Linked DNA regions of Homo sapiens: region 1 is linked to region 2. The links are contacts of gene promoters, found by promoter capture Hi-C in human tissues and cell types (Jung and others, 2019). All regions are on one chromosome and are shown on one strand. Each heading gives the region's core, a stretch centred on a gene start or on the middle of the fragment in contact. The rest is flanking DNA. Distances are from core to core; before and after follow the strand shown. Region 1 overlaps FBXO39 (F-box protein 39). Region 2 holds the start of TEKT1 (tektin 1).

Region 1 (5,330 bases), core at 1,730-4,229, 44 kb before region 2:
ACCAATGACATTCTTCACAGAAATAGAACAAAGAATCTTAAATTTATATATATATATGTGTGTGTGTGTGTGTGTGTGTGTATATATATATATGGAACCACAAAAGATGCAGAATAGCTAAAGCTGTCCTGACCAAAAAGAACAAAACTGTAGAAACCACATTACCTGACTTCAAATTATATTACAGAGCTATAGTCACTAAAACAGCATGAGACTGACATAAAAACAGATTTTAAGCCCCTTATATATTCTGGTTATTTATTAATCCCATAAAGACCAATGGAACAGAATAGAGAACCCAGAAACAAATTCATTCATCTGTAGTGAACTCATGTTTGACAAAGATGCCAAAACCATACATTGGGAAAAGGACGATCTCCTCTTCAGTAAATGGTGCTAGGAAAACTGGATAGCCATATGCAGAAGAATGAAACTAGACCACTATCTCTTGCCATATATGAAAATCAAATCAAAATGGACTAAAGACTTCAATCTAAGACCTCAAACTATGAAACTGCTACAAGAAAACATTGGGGAAACTCTCCAGGGCATTGAACTGGGCAAAGACTTCTTGAGCAATACCCACAAGCACAGGCAATCTAAGCAAACATAGACAAATGGGATCACATCAAGTTAAAAAGTTTCTGTACAATGAAGGAAACAATCAACAAAGTGAAGAGACAACCCACAGGAAGAATGGGAGAAAATATCTGTAAGCTACCCATATCACAAGGGATTAATAAATAAACAGAATATACAGAGCTCAAACAACTCTATAGGAAAAAAAAATAGTAATCCAATTAAAAAATAGGCAAAAGACTTGAACAGATATTTCTCAAAAGAAGACATATAAATGGCAAAATAAGTATATTAAAAGGTGCTCAACATCACTGATCATCAGAGAAATGCAAATCAAAACCACAATGAGATATTATCTCACCCCAGTTAAAACGATTTTTATTCAAAAGACAGGCAATAGCAAATGCTGGAAAGGATGTAGAGAAAAGGAAATTCTCATACACAGTTGGTGGGAATTTAAAGTAGTACAGCCACTGTAGAGAACAGTTTGGAGGTTCCTCAAAAAACTAAAAATAGAGCTTACATATGATCCAGCAATCCCACTGCTAGGTGTATACCCCAAAGAAAGAAAGTCAATATATCAAAGAGATGTCTGCACTCTCATGTTTATTGCAGCACTGTTCACAATAGCCAATATTTGGAAGCAACCTAAGTGTCCATCAATGGATAAAGAAAATGTGGTACATGTACACAATGGAGTACTATTCAGTCACAAAAAAGAATGAGATTCTGTTGTTTGCAATAACATAGATGCAACTGAGGTTGTTATGTTAAGTGAAATATGCTAGGCACCGAAGGACAAACTTTGCATGTTCTCACTTATTTGTGGGAGCTAAAAATTAAAACAATTCAACTCATGGAGATAGAGAGTAGAAGGACGCTTACCAGAGGCTGGGAAGGGTAGTAGGGGGTGCAGAGGGAAGTGGGGATGGCTAATGGGTACAAAAAAAGTTAGAAAGAATGAACAAGATCTAGTATTTGATAGCACGACAGGGTGTCTATAGTCAATCATCATTTAATTGTACATTTTTTAAAAACTAAAAGAGTATAATTGGATTGTTTGTAACACAAAGGATAAATGCTTGAAGTCATGGATACTCTATTTACCCCATTGTGATTATTACACATTGTATGCCTACATCAAAATATCCCATATACCCCATAAATATATGTACCTATGTACCACAAAAATTAAAAATTAAAGTTAAAAACCCCCAAATCATCATGGCTATCAGGCCCAGAGCCAGGTCGTGGAAATGTTACAGAACAACTCAGCCAGGCTCAGCATCTCTGCCCACACACATCTTCCCTTTTGGTGCTCTTCCAGAAATTAACTTGTGAATTCAACAACAACCATGAGTCACTCGACGAGGAGCTGCACCTCCTCATCATATCCTGCAGGAAGTTGTTTTACTTCAAAATCTGGGCTTTCCTTGATGTTAGTTTTGTGGAGCGGATCCTGAAGAGTCAGAAAGAACGGCAGTGTGCCCTGCGTGTATTCAAGGTAAGAGGTCCCCAGGCTGGTTCCACGGCGTAGAGTGGGGGCATCCAGGAATGGTGCTTCTGCTCTGGAACGAAGGGCTGAATAAGGCAGTGGGGGACAATCATCTGTTCATTGAAAATCAGCAGTTTCAAAGAAGGGAATCTGGAGCTCTCTTTTCTAGTAGTTGGGTTTGGTCTTTTTCTGATTCTGCCAACATATTTTCCTGATTCAACAACTGTATGTGTAGATCATTTAAGTTGCTGTCAAGCCCTGAAAAGTGTAGTCACCGTGTGTGTGTGTGTATGTGTGTGTGTGTGTGCGTGTGTGCGTGCTCATATGTGGATGTATTTCTCTGTTGGCACAGGCGAGAATTTATACAAACAGATATGAGACGAATGAAGAGGACAAGACCCTGCAGGAAATTTACAGGAAGTACAGAAAGCTGATCGAATCAGAGCTTAGCTATTTTGTCATCGTTTACTCTGTGATGTAATGAGCACTCTACAGATGAAGAAAGCTGGGAGCACTTTGAACTTGAAAATCATTTCTCTTAGAACTACACTTGGGCACTGCCGGCCCTTTTGCTCCTCTCTCTCCCCTCCACTTTTTTTTTTTGTCAGCTCCATGACAACATGACCAGCTCAGCAAAGGCTGAGACTGCCCATGACCTGAAGGCTCCAGGTGGCTTTAAAGCGCTATGTTTACCAACTATCCCGGTGTCATTTCTCTTTTTGTCAGTTTTGCTTTTTGACACCCTCACTCGTCCACAGAGCTAAAAACCCAAAGCCACTCAGAGTAGCTTCCTTTTTTTTTTTTTGAGATGTGTTGACGAAAAGAGTCAAACTCTGTAAAATATTTTTAGAGATTTATTCTGAGCCAAATATGAGTGACCATGGCCTGTGATACAGCCCTCAGGAGGTCCTGAGAACATGTGCCCAAGGTGATTGGGGTACAGCTTGCTTTTATATATTTTAGGAGGCAAGAGACATCAATCAAATAGATTTAAGAAATATATTGGTTTGATTCAGAAAGGCGGGGCAACAAAGCAGGGGCTTCCAGGGTATAGGTAAATTTAAACATTTTCTGGTTGACAATTGGTTGAGTTTATCTGAAGACCTGGGATCAACAGAAAAGAAATGTTTGGGATGAGATAAAGGATTGTGGAGACCAAGTTTTACTGCGCAAAGGAAGCTCTCAGATAGCAGACTTCAGAGAGAGCAGGTTGTAAAATGTTTCTTATTGGAATTAGAACGGTCCCTGGCTCTTAGTTGATTATCTCCTGGAACCAGAAAGGAAGGAAGGAAAACAAAGGGGAGAGGAGATTCTCTACAGAATATGGATTTTTCCCACAAGAGACTTTGCAGGGCAATTTCAAAGTATGGCAAGAAAATATATTTTGGGATAAAACATTTTGATTTTCTTCCTTGTTATGCCAGAGTCAGATTGGAAAGTCACTATATACAGGGTTAACTAAAACCCATCTAATTAGAATTTATGGCTTGTAGGGCATGATTCCTCAGACCCCTTAGATAGGAATTTGGGCAAGATTTAAAAAAAAAAAAAATCAGAGCTTAGTCCTCAGACAGAGTCTCATTCTGTTGCCCAGGCTAGAGTGCAGTGGTGCAATCTCGGCTCACTGCAACTTCTGCCTCTCAGGTTCAAGCAATTCTCCTGCCTCAGCCTCCAAGTAGCTGGGATTACAGGCATGCACCACCATGCCCAGATAATTTTCGTATTTTTTGTGGAGATAAGGTTTCACCACGTTGGCCAGGCTGGTCTCCACCTCCTGGCCTCAAATGATCCACCTGCCTTAGCCTCTCAAAGTGCTGGGATTACAGGCGTGAGCCACCGCACCCAGCCCCAGAATAGACTCTTACTAGAGGACCCTGACTCTTGCTAACCTGTGCACCTGAAAGGGTGTGTGTAACCATTAAGCAAATAGAATCACATTTTCTACTGACCGACATTATCAGTTTAGAAATCCTTTGTATCCACTGACCTTCATTGGGGAGTCTGCTGACATTGACATTGTCATTGTCTGGGCCCAATCTCAGATGCATAGAAATCTCCAGCCTGCCCTTGGGTGAAGCAGGAAAAGCCCCACTTTTAGGAGGAGTCTGCTCAGAGCTGGAACTCCCTCCCACAGAAGGAACTCAGCCCCTGACTTAATGGCATCGTGGACTCGAATCTCCTTCCTCCGTTTTTCCTGTGTCTCCTTTATTTTTCCACAAATATGCTGAGACCGGGTCTGTGATGTTGAACATAGATGTGAATGGCCAAGTTTGATGGCCCCAAACCTGGCTTTTGGAGCCAGGTGTCTGGATGAGTACTGGCCTGCCATGAACTTGTCTTGTGCCTTGGGGCAAGAATTTAACCTCCTTGAGTTTCAGCTTCTCTGTGTGTAAACGAAGAAAAAATTAATTACATGCATTGCAACACACACACCTGGCCCGTGTTGGCTTTTATCTTGTTTGATATATGAAGGAACAGGCTCTAAGGAAGTTAACTTACCCCGAGTCATACAGCCAGTTTGTGGCAGAACTAATACCAAAGTCTCCAGATTTAGAACCCAAGACTCTTTCTTCCTCCCAAACAACAAAATGAGAAGAACCCATTCCCTCTCCCTTCCTCCACCCAGCTTGTCTCGACAGTTATTAAAGTGATCACTGGTTGAGTGTTTACATGCTAGACATAAATTCACCTAGTTTCATTTAATCCTCACACAGCTCTAGAAAGCAGAGACTACTATTATCCCTCTTTTACAGGGATCCTGAAGGATTGGCAAGTCTAACCTGCCCTGGTCACACATTTAGGAAGTTCTGGAAGTGAGTGTCAAACCCAATCTAATTCCAGAGCTCTGCTCTTAATTCCTACGTATTATCCCCACAGCAAGAGGATTTGGGGTCTGTTGTACCGTAATTCTATTAAGTGAAGAGCATGGTTGGAAGAGAGGATCGATGATAATAATAAATTCCTGAGCCCATGCCATAGACATTGTATTACTTCTGGTCCTTTGGGGGTTTTGTGCATGCAGTGGCATAGAGTTCTGTTTTTCAATAGATATAAATTAACAAAATCTCAGAACACTTTTAACAAGTGACATTTCAGATTTTGTTTGTCTTGCCTCTTGTGTGCTGTGCCCATATTTTTGCTTAGCTGAGGTTTTCAGAAGTGAGAAGTGTTGGTGACATTGTCAGACAAAGGATTTGCAGCTGTTATAGACTCACCATCCACCACATGGCACTCACAGGTAGCATTTATTCACAAA
Region 2 (5,364 bases), core at 2,371-4,870:
TAATTTTTTGTATTTTTAGTAAAGACAGGGTTTCACCATGTTAGCCAGGATGGTCTCAATCTCCTGACCTTGTGATCCGCCCACGTTGGCCTCCCAAAGTGCTGGAATCACAGGCGTGAGCCACCATGCCCGGGCGCCTTCTCATTTTTAACACCTACCTATTTGCACAATTATTTAGAACAGGCCTATCTACAGGGTGGTATCAATGTAAGGGTCAACCTATTAGGAGAGCCTAACATCTAACATTGCTGACCTGAATGAAGGTTTCATTTACTGGAAATTAGAAAACTACAGTCCTCAGACCAGGTTTGATCCATAAACGTGTTTGTTCAGCTGGCCCAGTGTTATAAATAAATTAAGTCAGTTACCAACATTTAAAACGTGAATAAATTCCTGCTTTCCAGATTTTCTTGAAAAAATCGGACAATCAGGCAACACTGGGCTCATGTTCTTTCTTGGAAGCAATGGGTTGAAACTGAGTAGCAGCTTCCTCCTTAGATGGGGCACACGTTCTCCAGGTCCCCACAGTCCCTACTAAACCCTAATGCCTTACATTCAATCCCTATGCTACCTGCTTGGTCCCTATAGATAGTCGAGTTGGTTACCCCTGGTTAATCCCTTTTTGGCATTTAGCCGACGTTGGTTGTTTGTTTTGTTTTATGTTTATTTTTGTTTTGATTATTTAAGGATACTATCTTTTTTTTTAAATGTGCTTTCCTGAGATCTTTGCTAAAGAACGCTACCTTTTAAATACTGTTTTAGGCAGGGTGCGGTGGCTCGTGCCTGTAATCCCAGACTTTGGGAGGCTGAGGCGGGCGGACCACCTGAGGTCAGGAGTTCAAGACCAGCCTGGCCAACATGATGAAACCCCGTCTCTACCAAAAATACAAAAATTAGCCGGGTGTGATGGTGCACGCCTGTAATCCCAGCTACTCAGGAGGCTGAGGCAGGAGAAGCGCTCGAACCTGGAAGGCAGAGATTGCAGTGAGCTGAGATTGTGCCACTGTACTCTGGCCTGTGTGATGGAGCGAGACTCTGTCTCAAGAAATTTAAGTAAATACTGTTTTAAGTAAGGAATTGTCAAGAGAAAATGACTCCTTTTAAGACTCAAGTAAATGTTCTTCTCTAGAAAAACTTTTCCAATTTTTCACATCTACTCCGCCCCGTCTTTGTTCCCCTACCCCAGCACCTATCTGGTTATACACCTGTCCCTTGGTATCCTCAGAGGATTTGTTCCAGAGTCCCTGACAGACACCAAAATCCATGGATGCTCAAGTCTTTTATACAAAATGGTGTAGTGTTTTCATATAACCTATGCACATCTTCCCATATACTTTCCTTTTCTCTTTCTTTTCTTTCTCTTTCTTTCTTTCTTTCTCTCTTTCATTCTTCCTTTCTTTTTCTTTCTTTTTTTTTTTTTTATGAAACAGGGTCTTGGTATATCACCCAGGGTGGTCTCTAACTCCTGGGCTTACAGGATCCTACTGCCTCAGCCCTCCAAGTAGCTGGGACTAACAGCACATGCTACCACACCCAGCCAGTATACTTTAAATCATCTTCAGATTACTTATAATACCTAATACAATGCAAATACTATGTAAATAGCTGTTGAACTGTATTGTTTTTATTTGTATTCTTTAATTGTTGTAATCTTTTATTGTTTTTTTTTCCTAAGTATTTTGGACCTACAACTGGCTGAACCCATGGATACAAAGGGCTGACTGTATTCTGATGATTAATTTTTGTATCTTTATCCTCTTCAAGTTAGAAGCCCCTAAAAAGCAGAGATTCTGATCATTCCCTGTGATATGCCTAGTGTGTAGTACATAGATGCCCATAGATGCTCAATAACTGTGCATCAAATCAACAAATAAATGAATGATGGGTGGCTGAAAATCAGGCTGGGTTACCTTGTGTCTATCTTAGGGCAGTGAACTTAAACATAGAACCTGGAGAATACACATGATTTTCTCTAATATTCAAAAATAATATGTTGCCACATCTGAACATGACACTATAGCTAAACTCAACAGCCTCATCCTAGCATGTTCACGAATATGCCAAGCATGTTGTCTTACCTAGTTTCTTGTTCACATCGCTTTGAGATTTTCTTGTGGTCTTTTCAATTTCATCCACAAGCCTCTGGCTTTCTGCGACCAGGCGTTCTGATCGGGACCTTTGAGCGTCTGCTCTGTGGTACTGGTTCTTGTTAGCAATGTGCCACTCTGAGGGCAGGAACTTGGGTGGAGGTTGTAATAGTTTAGCCATTTGAGGTTTCCAAATTCCTGATCAAAAGCAGACTCTTTTAGATTAAATGAAAGCAATTTGTCCTTTTTTATGATAATTTTTATTCAAGGATGACATATATACGGAAAATTGCATAAATCATAATCTGTACACAAAATAAATCTATCTGTGTAGCCGGCACCCAAACCAAGAAACAAGCATTACCAGCATCTCTAACCTCCTCCCAGTTACTCCACCTCAAGCCCCTCAGGGTAACCAGTATCCTGACTTTTAACACTACAAATTCGTTTTGCTGTTTTTGAATTTAACATAAATGGAATAATACAGTATGTATTATTCTGTCTCTGACTTCTTTAGCTCAACATTATGTTTGTAAAATTCATCCATATTGTCTATATGATTGCAGTTTGTTCGTTCTCGTTGCTGTGTAGGTGCCGTTATATGAATAAAATCTAGCTGTCTTTTCTACTGTTTATGGATATTTGGGTTGTTTACACTCCAGGGCCATAATGAGAATGCTATTAATAGTCTCATACATGTCTTTTGGTGAACACGTGTATGCATTTTTATAACTCATTAGAATTGTTGGGTCATGGAGTAATGTTCTGCCAAACAGATGAGCCCAGAGATGTTTTCTTAAAAAAAGAAGAAGAAAAAGAAGAGGAAGAAGAAGGAGGAGGAGGAGGAGGAGGAGGAGGAAATGTAACATGTGTAAACTGACAACTGGGTATTGAACTTGTTCAACACATAAAAGAATCTGAAAACTTCCAGGACAAAGAAAAGGAGAGAACAGGAAGGGGAACAACACAGGGGAAGCCAGCTGGCAGAGGCTGTCGGCAGTGGAAACGCTAAAATTACCCATTTCATCTTCATACAACTCTGATGGACCATGAGAACTGCCTTCCTCAGACAGGGCTGAAATCTGCCCCCACTCCCATCTCTACCCTAAGGTCTGAGTCCCTGCTCTTAGGGGCCTCTGGATCTCTGAAGCCTTCACATATATAAGGATGAAACTAGAGTCAGATCTTGACTAGGCTGAGAACCTCAGCCCACCCAGCCCCCTCAGACAACATGGAGTTTCTCCGTTTCTTCCTAGCCCAGTCCCTTTTATGGCTTCTACCGAATTTATCTGAGTGTGGAGCCCAGCATTTAACCCAAGGCTCCTGGATAAGTCTGAATAGCCCCCAGAGAGGTGGGGACCTAAATTAGGGCTCATCCCAACGTCATAAGGATTTGGTTAGGCGGGGAGGGTTGCGGGTAGGGGTCGGTGGGGTGGGGTCATGGTTTACTTACCTCAGCGCCACACAGAACCACTACGCAAGCTCGGGATGGGAGCCTCCTTACCCCAACTGGAGCTTCCAGCTCTTGCAGAACAGAGAGGTAAACAACGCGGTCTCCATGACAACAAGTGACGCGTTGCCAGGGCAAAGAGGGCTGGTTCCGCCACTGAGCAGCCTGGCCAAAGGCTTAGCGCAGGCGCAAATTCTGCGGACCCCAGAGCCAGAGACCCAGGAGTGTGGCGTGTGGGAAGGGTAGGGCCAGATGCTCCGGCCACCTCAACCTACCGCGAAGACGCGGGGCACCAAGCAGAAGACAGCGGCCAAAGCCCCGAGCTGGGAGTCAGGAGACCTGCGTCTAGTCCGAGCCCTCCCGCGGGCGGGATCATCTCGGGTCGCGCTGTACCCCGGCTCTCAGACTTCCCGGCTGTACAGTGGGGTTGGGCTGGGCGATGCCTCCAGGACCTCGCAGTCGCAGGCGAAATTGAGGGTTAAAAATCAGGAAGCCAAGTTGATTGTTTCTGTAAGCTACAATGAGTTTCCTCCAGAGTTTGTATAGGTCTGTTACCACAACTGGCTTATTTCTGCGTGGGGCGCCCGATGGGGCACTCTGTGAGGGCAGGTGTGTGAGTAGAACGCCTTCAGGCAAACACTCCAGAAGTCACTCTGCATCCACTAGGAGATGGAAAATATGGGAGAAAAATTAAATCTGAGGGGATAGCTCCAGAAGATTTAATATTTGTCAAGTAGGACTTCCAGAAGGAAAGAAAAAAAGAGAGAGAATGGCAAAACAATTGTGAAAGTGAGAGAGAGATAACTTGAGCCAAAGACTCAAGTCTTTAGATTAACGACCCACCTGAAATTAACACACACCCCCATTCCTTACATATAGTCCTCCCTGTGGATTATGCATATAATCCATAGAGTGATTAGCTCCAGGATCCCCCTCAGATACTGAAATCTGCAGATTCTCAAGTCTCATATAAAGTGGTGTAGCATTTGTATATAACCTACGCACATCCCTAGATAGGCATACTTTACGTCATCTCTAGATTGCTACAATACCTAATACAATGCCTAATACAATACCTAATATAGTGCCTAATACAGTGCCTAATGCAATACATAATACAATACATAATACAACACCTAATACCTAATATAATACCTAATACAATGCCTAATACAATACCTAATACAATGTCTAACCATGCCTACTCATCGCTTCATTCGCATGGATTCAACATAGCACTCAGGGTGCAACAAATTCAAGTTTTGCTTTTTGGAGCTTTGTGGAATTTTTTTCCTGAATATTTTTTATTTGTGTGTCATCGCATCCAAGGATGTAGAATCCACGGATAGGAAGGGCCAACTTTATACCTATTCTGGTGGAATTTCTTAATTCAAAGAATAAGAAGAAAAAGAAAGAATAGGTATCAAGTGTTTCGTCTCTAACACAGGTGGCTAGAAATGATGGTTGCTAGAAATGATGCTAGGATAATGCCTTCAAATTCTATAGAAAATTATTTCAAATCTGGGATTCTACAACCAGTCAAAGCATTTCATGTATGAGAGCAAAATAAAAGATTTCTTTGGACATGCCAGTACTCAAAACGGTGAGCGTACATTCTTTATGGAAAAAAATAATAGAGCAAAAGTGAAAAATCCAGAAAGAAGAAGATACTGGACATAAGACATAGTGGAACCAACCCAGCTGTGTGATGAAAAGAAAGCTCGGTGTAATAGCTACCGAACTAAAAAGCAATGAGTCCAAATTACAACTAAAAGTCAAAAGAAGTTTTGAACAATATCTTTAAGAAGAGTTATACAAACTATGATT

Evidence for each region. Contacts are between HindIII fragments. The study calls those that stand out against the background at their distance.
Region 1: a contact is called between a fragment that was not itself captured here and the fragment with the promoter of TEKT1 in region 2, in 1 of the 25 tissues and cell types used here (psoas muscle).

What each region holds. Positions count from the first base shown.
Region 1 is chr17:6,784,874-6,790,203 of GRCh38, forward strand. FBXO39 (F-box protein 39) reads left to right here. Exons shown (of 4, transcript NM_153230.3): 3 at 1,907-2,083; 4 at 2,427-2,773. The coding sequence ends at 2,555. Among named protein-coding and RNA genes, the nearest start is that of FBXO39, 11 kb to the left of the region's middle. The HindIII fragment of the contact is 9,989 bases long and covers 1-5,330 here.
Region 2 is chr17:6,828,109-6,833,472 of GRCh38, forward strand. It overlaps TEKT1 (tektin 1), which reads right to left and starts at 3,621. Exons shown (of 8, transcript NM_053285.2): 1 at 3,541-3,621; 2 at 2,079-2,285. The coding sequence starts at 2,268. RefSeq lists a silencer at 3,584-3,633. The HindIII fragment of the contact is 13,856 bases long and covers 1-5,364 here.